2 separate regions of the Homo sapiens genome follow, and region 1 is linked to region 2. The links are contacts of gene promoters, found by promoter capture Hi-C in blood cells and fetal thymus (Javierre and others, 2016). All regions are on one chromosome and are shown on one strand. The core of a region is centred on a gene start or on the middle of the fragment in contact, and the rest is flanking DNA. Distances in the headings are between cores, read along the strand shown. Region 1 overlaps ZNF569 (zinc finger protein 569). Region 2 holds the start of VN1R1 (vomeronasal 1 receptor 1).

Region 1 (3,816 bases), core at 1,291-3,790, about 20 Mb after region 2:
GCACAAAAGAACACCTGAAAAATGATATTTTGTCTGAAAAGACTTGACATTGTAAAAATATAATTTCTCTCCCAAATCACTAAGTTTAATATACTTCTGAAGTTTACATCAGTTTTATTTTAAGGAACTTCACAAACTTATCCAAAAATTTTATGTGGAAAAGTAAAGAAACACAAATAGCTGAAACAAACTTGACAAAGCAAGTAGAGAAGACACACTCTATTATTAGATATATCATGTACTTATTTAAAGCTGCTGTCATTTAAACAATGTATTACCAAGTGAATAAATCAAGCAGTAGTAAGATAGTGAGCATTCATACAAAAATCCAAGAAGATACAGGAATTCTGTGTATGACAGTGCTATTGAAATCACTGGGGAATGAATGGCTTATTTAATAAATGGAAGGTTCATAGGAGAAAAATTTTAGCTTTCTACTTTATATCATATACAAAAATAAAATCCAACTAAAGACCAGAATATAAAAAGCAAAATTTTAAAACTATGATGAAAGTAGAATCCGTTACTTTAGGGTAACAAGATTTCTTTAAAAAACATGTAAACATGGAATAGTCTGTTGAATTTTGGTGTATTGGCCTCACAGGCACCCACAAATGTACACAAAGAGATATATATCACTGTGTTCCTGAATCATGGTTTGTATTGCCCAAAATTGGATATAACAAATTTTTATCAATTGTGGAATAGATGAATAAGTGTGATCATTTCTGTGATAAAATACAGAATTTAGAAACAAAATCTACCTATAGTTATATGGATAGATTACAATATATAATATTGAGAGAAAAAATTAAAATGCACAAAGGAACACAGTATAACATTTGTATAATTTAATAAGATCTTGCAAAGAACAGTACTGTGTATTGGTCATGGATCCATATATGACTTGGTTGCCTTTTGGGATGTGGGAAAGGTTTGGTGGGAGTTGTTATATTTATCTGTAATATTTCTTTAATAAAAGAGTGAAAGCAAATATGACAGTGGTGACAAATCTGGTTGTCCAAATTAATTATATGGGTTTTTAAAATTGTTTTTTCTTGCTTTTATTTTCCTAATTTCTCAAAAATAAGAATCAAATGGGTGGGGGAAACCTGGGCCTGGAGAAATAATTTTAAAATGGATTTTTATTCTTGATCAGATACTAACATTTATAGAAGATTGTCTTTACACAAAACATACCTGACAAGGTATTATTTTGTTTACTGTCTCTTCATGTTAATTGGAATAATAAAATCAGCAGTATTTTCGCATTTATTTGAGGCCAATTTTTAATTTTAAACTCAAATTTTTTTCTAGTTGAGTATAGAAACAAAACAATTATTTTATTATTGGGATAATTGGCTATCCATTTGGGGAAAGAAATCCACCTTCATTTGGGTTGGTTTTGGAGTGAAGGAAAGAGACCATTCATGCATACTGTAAAATATAGTTTACATTCTAATATATCAAGCCAAGAATAGTTATTGGTGTTAGAGTAGAAGCAATTTCTATATATCTCAACAAAGCTTTTCTTTGTTTCTGGATCAATAAATGGGGATGCAGATGCTGGTGATTTTATGTATGCCAGGTAAGGGCCCAGTGGATGTGAAAAATTCACTTCATTCTGTTCCACAGATGTTTTATATTCAGGCCTTTCAAATATTTATGTCGTGGCCAGGTGCAGTGGTGGCTCACACCTGTAATCCCAGCACTTTGGGAGGCTGAGGCAGGTGGATCACTTGAGGTCAGGAGTTTGTGAGCAGCCTGGCCAACATGGTGTAACCCCGTCTCAACTAAAAATACAAAAATTAGCTGGGTGTGGTTGTGTGTGCCTCTTATCCCAGCTACTTGGGAGGCTGAAGCACGAGAATTGCTTGAACCCAGGAGGCAGAGGTTGCAGTGAGCTGAGATCACGCCACTGCATTCCAGCCTGGGCAACAGAGTGAGACTCCATCTCAAAAAACAAACAAAAAAACAAATATGTTGCCTCCAATTTCATTTTCTGTGAATAGTCTATTCATATATTAAGTCTGTTTTTTTCTACTGGAACTTCAAAAATGTTTTTCTTGGAAACAATTATGGATTTATAGGAAGTTATACAGATAATGCTGTATAGTACTATTTAGTCCTTGTACCCCACACCTCGTTTCTCCTAATGGTAACACCTTATATAACAGTACAGAATCAAATTTGACATTGGTACAATCCACAAACATTACCAGTTTTATAGGCACTTGTGTATGTGTCTGTACAGTTCTATACAGTTTTATCTCATGCACAGATTAGTGTAACTGCCACTCCCCATAGTCAATCTATAAAACTGACAGCACCACAAAGGTCCCTTGTTCTATCCATTTATAGTCACACCCATCTTCCTGTCCTCCTCACTCCCCATCCCTAACCCCTGGCAATTACTAGTCTATTCTCTATCTCTATAGTTTTTTCATAATGGATTTTTTTCTTTTTTGTGTGTGTTACAATATATTCTGGACACAAATCCTTTGTCAGTTACTTGCATTCTAAAAATAGTTTTGTTTTCAGTTTATTGCAGACACAAAAATTTTAAAGCTGAATGTGAAAATTAGTCTATGATACATTTTGAGTTAACTTTTTATAAGGAATAAAATTTAGGTCAAGGTTCATTTTTTGGATGTCTACTTGTTACAGTGCTATTTGTTGAAAAAAAATATTGTTTCTCCATTGAATTGCTTGGCCTACTTCTGTGTTTCTGAATGCTCTTTTCCAAAAATCTATGCATCTATCCCTCTATCAATGCCACACTGTCTTGATTACTATAGCTGTATACTGATTGCTCTCATTTTTTTACTTTTTCTTTTTCTTTTTTTTTTTTGAGGCAGGGTCTCACTCCTGTCACCCAGGCTGGAGTGCAATGGTTCTAGTCATAGCTCACTGCAGAATCAGATGATTCTCCAAGCCAAGTAGCTGAGACTAGACGTGTGTGTCAGCACACTCAGCTAATTTTTGTATTTTGAGTAGAGATGGTTTTGCCATGTTGCCCAGGCTGGTCTCAAACTCTTGAGTTCAAGGAATCCTCTGGCCTTGGTCTCCCAAAATGCTGGAATTACAGGCGTGAGCCACCACACCTGACCTATTATTCATTTTCAAAATTTATTTATCTATTCCACTTTCTTTGCTCTTCCATATAAATTTTGGATCAGCCTGTCTGTGTTTTCAAAAGCCCTGCTTAAATTTTCATAGAAATTGCATTAAGCCTTTATTTCATTGTGGAAGAATGGAAGTCTTTACTATACTAAGCCTTCCACTCCATAAACACAGTATGTGTCTTATGTAGGTCTTCTTTGAGTTCATCAGTTTTAATCATTGTTTTGTAATTTTTAGCTCCGGTAAATGTATTAGATTTAAACTTAACTGCTTCACTGGATGTGTGTGTGTGATATTCTTGTTTGTAAATTCCTTTAGATTTTCTATGTAGAAATAATATCATCTGCAAATGGGGCCAGTTATGTTTTGTTCTTTCCAATCTATATGCTTGCTTTTTACTTTTCTGGCCTTATAAATTGTCAGTAAGCTTCTGGAATGGGATTTTAAAGCTGACTTCTGGGAGAAAATCAGTTAAGCAATCTTCAAAGACCAAAACATAAGAGTCAATGAAAACATAAAAGGGGGCAAGGATTGAAAAAGTAACCAGTGGGTATCGTGCTCAGTACGTGGGTGGCAGGGTCATTTATACCCCAGACCTCAGCATCACACAATATACCCAGGTAACCTGCACATGTACCCCCAACTCTAAAAATTTTTAAAAAAGAGATGATATTTAAAGGAGAAATGGGATTG
Region 2 (3,452 bases), core at 919-3,418:
ATAGGTGCAGCAAACCACCATGGCACACGTTTACCTATGTAACAAACCTACACATCCGGCACCTGTATCCTGGAACTTTAAAAAATTAAATTAAATTGGCGCGGTGGCTCACGCCTGTAATCCCAGCACTTTGGGAGGCCAAGGTGGGTGGATCACGAGGTCAGGAATTCGAGACCAGCCGGGCCAACATGGTGAAACCCCATCTCTACTAAAAATACAAAAAAAATTTAGCCAGGCGCAGTGGCAGGCGCCTGTAATCCCAGATACTCAGGAGGCTGAGGCAGGTGAATCGCTTGAACGTGGGAGGTGGAGTTTGCAGTGAGCCGAGATAGCGCCACTGCACTCTAGCCTGGGCAACAGAGTGAGACTCTGTCTCAAAAAAAAAAAAAAAAGAAAGCAAAGAAAGAAAAAAAAATTAAATTAAATTAAAAAAAAAAAGGAAAATCTGTCTGAAAATTCTCACCAGTTACCAACACTTCTTTCTGAGGCTAGGAGGAGAAGGAGGTGGTATGTTAAAGTCAATAATCACACTAACTTTATACATACAAGAAGCTTTCAAAATAGTCATAGTAAAAATGGTACTTTATAAGGAGAAGCTGAAAAAATAGGAAACCAAATGCATATTGGAAATAAATTATACAACTAGGACAATGGAGCAAAATAAGAGATTAAAGCAAAGAATCAGGAACTATCTTGAAAATAAATGATGAGTTCATATAAATAGGAAAAACATTTGTCAACAAGTGGTTTGTGGGAATCTAAAAGGTTTTCATACCTCAGAGCCTGAGTTTTTTTTTTTTTTTTTTGAGACCGAGTTTCACTCTTGTTGCTCAGGCTGGAGTGCAATGGCATGATCTCGGCTCACTGCAACCTCCGCCTCTGGGGTTCAAACGATTCTCCTGCCTCAGCCTCCCGAGTAGCTGGGATTACAGGCATGCGCCACCACCTCTGACTAATTTTTGTATTTTTAGTAGAGACGGGGTTTCTCCCTGTTGGTCAGGCTGGTCTCGAACTCCCGACCTCAGCTGATCCACCAGCCTCGGCCTCCCAAACTGCTGGGATTACAGGCGTGAGCCACCTCTCGCCTGAGAATCTTGATACTGCTGTGTTATTGATTGCTCCACCCCTAAAGAGATGTAGTTATTCATGGGAGAAAATACCTCATAATTTTCCCTGATGATAGCAATTCCATAGAGACACCAAAAGAATCTAAATTATGGCCGGGCGAGGTGGCTCATCCCTGTAATCCCAGCACTTTGGGAGGCCGAGGCGGGCGGATCACGAGGTCAGGAGATCGAGACCATCCTGGCTAACACGGTGCAACCCCGTCTCTACTAAACACACACACACACACACACACACACACACACACACTAGCCGGGCGTGGTGGTGGGCGCCTGTAGTCCCAGCTACTCAGGAGGCTGAGGCAGGAGAATGGCGTGAACCCAGGAGGCTTCAGCCTCCCGAGTAGCTGGGACTACAGGCACGCACCACAACACCCAGCTAATTTTTGTATTTTTAGTAGAGACGGGGTTTCACCATGTTGGCCAGGATGGTCTCCATCTCCTGACCTTGTAATCCACCCGCCTCAGCCTCCCAAAGTGCTGAGATTACAAGCGTGAGCCACCGTGCCTGGCCGCAGTTACTATTTCTTTTGTGATTGATATATATGAATATTGTGCAATGAAATTCCCTCCCAATTGAATTATCTTTCCCTAAAAATAAACCCAAGCTTTCTGGAACATATTGAATTTCCTATTTAACAAGTTTTAAGGATATCTTAGGTGTTTCTGGGATTAGTATTTATTTTCAGGATCTTTTGCATTTACTTGTGAGAAATGGCATTGAGATAAAAATGTGTGGGCTCAAGGTGGTCATGGTTATTTCTACGGAGTCAATTCACAATCTCTAGACCTGTCCGGTGGAAAATAACAGAAATATATGTGCTTAAAATAAAATATACCATGATGCAATGTTGATTGTTCCAAAAATTATAGTTTTTAAAAATTCTTCAAGTTAGCATTTGTACTGTGCTGAAGGCCTTGTTACCAATTGTATTGTAGCGTTTTTTTAATTTCTTTTTTTTTTTTTTTTGAGACAGAGTCTCGCTCTGTCGCCCAGGCTGGAGGGCAATGGTTTGATTTCAGCTCACTGCAACCTCTGCCTCCCAGGTTCAAGCGATTCTCCTGCCTCAGCCTCCCGAGTAGCTGGGACTAGCACGCGCCGCCATGCCCGGCTAATTTTTGTATTATTAGTATTTTGTATTATTAGTAGAGACAGGGTTTCACCATGTTGGCCAGGATGGTCTCCATCTTGGCCTCCCGAAGTGCTGGAATTACAGGTGTGAGCCACTGCACCCGGCCTAAAATTTGTTTCAATGCATCAATAACAATGGTGTTTACTAAAATATTAGTGTGGAAAAGGTTTTATGGTGTATTATTTTTGCTTTTCATATCTCCAGGCTACTTAATTGAAGGTTTTATTGAAATAAGTGTAGACTCACAAGCAGTCATAAGAAATAATACAGAAAAAGCCCTGTCCATATTACCCAGGGTTCCGTCATGATTACATTTTGCAAACTATAGTATAATATCACTCTAATGATATTGACTCTTCTGTGTTCTGTTTTTATATATTTCCCTAGTTTTGCTTGTATTTACTTGTTGCATGTGTGTAAGCCCTGAGTTTTATAGGTTTGATTTGTGGATCTGTTGTGCGGTTGAGCCCTCATTCATTCACCTGCTTCTCTGCAGTTGGACACACAAGCAATTGCCTTTGCACGAACAGGGACAATCTTAATTTCTGTTTAAGATGAGAAAATATGGTTGGAGACACATTAAAACTTCTGTCTCCACTGATGACAAGATACTTCTTTCTGCTTTTTTATTCTACTGATTCTTCAGACCTCAATGAAAATCAACATCCCCTAGATTTTGATGAAATGGCTTTTGGAAAAGTAAAATCAGGGATTAGCTTCCTCATTCAGACTGGAGTTGGGATCCTGGGAAATTCCTTTCTCCTTTGTTTTTATAACTTAATTTTGTTCACTGGACACAAGCTGAGACCCACGGACTTGATTCTCAGCCAACTGGCCTTGGCTAACTCCATGGTCCTTTTCTTTAAAGGGATACCTCAGACAATGGCAGCTTTTGGATTGAAATATTTGCTGAATGACACTGGATGTAAGTTTGTCTTTTATTATCACAGGGTGGGCACAAGAGTTTCCCTCAGCACCATCTGCCTTCTCAATGGATTCCAAGCCATTAAGCTCAACCCCAGTATATGCAGGTGGATGGAGATCAAGATTAGATCCCCAAGGTTTATTGACTTCTGTTGTCTCCTCTGCTGGGCCCCCCATGTCTTGATGAATGCATCTGTTCTTCTATTAGTGAATGGCCCACTGAATAGCAAAAACAGTAGTGCAAAAAACAATTATGGATACTGTTCTTACA

What was found. Contacts are between HindIII fragments. The CHiCAGO score rates a contact against its expected background, and 5 or more counts as called.
Region 1: a fragment that was not itself captured here is called in contact with the fragment with the promoter of VN1R1 in region 2 in 2 of 17 cell types (non-activated CD4 T cells and naive CD8 T cells); the score reaches 8.0 in non-activated CD4 T cells.

Annotation. Positions count from the first base shown.
Region 1 is chr19:37,408,335-37,412,150 of GRCh38, reverse strand. It overlaps ZNF569 (zinc finger protein 569), which reads left to right. Exons shown (of 6, transcript NM_152484.3): 6 at 1-994. Among named protein-coding and RNA genes, the nearest start is that of ZNF527, 39 kb to the right of the region's middle. The HindIII fragment of the contact is 2,024 bases long and covers 1,529-3,552 here.
Region 2 is chr19:57,455,856-57,459,307 of GRCh38, reverse strand. VN1R1 (vomeronasal 1 receptor 1) reads left to right here and starts at 2,168. Exons shown (of 1, transcript NM_020633.4): 1 at 2,168-3,452. The coding sequence starts at 2,822. The HindIII fragment of the contact is 5,648 bases long and covers 1,735-3,452 here.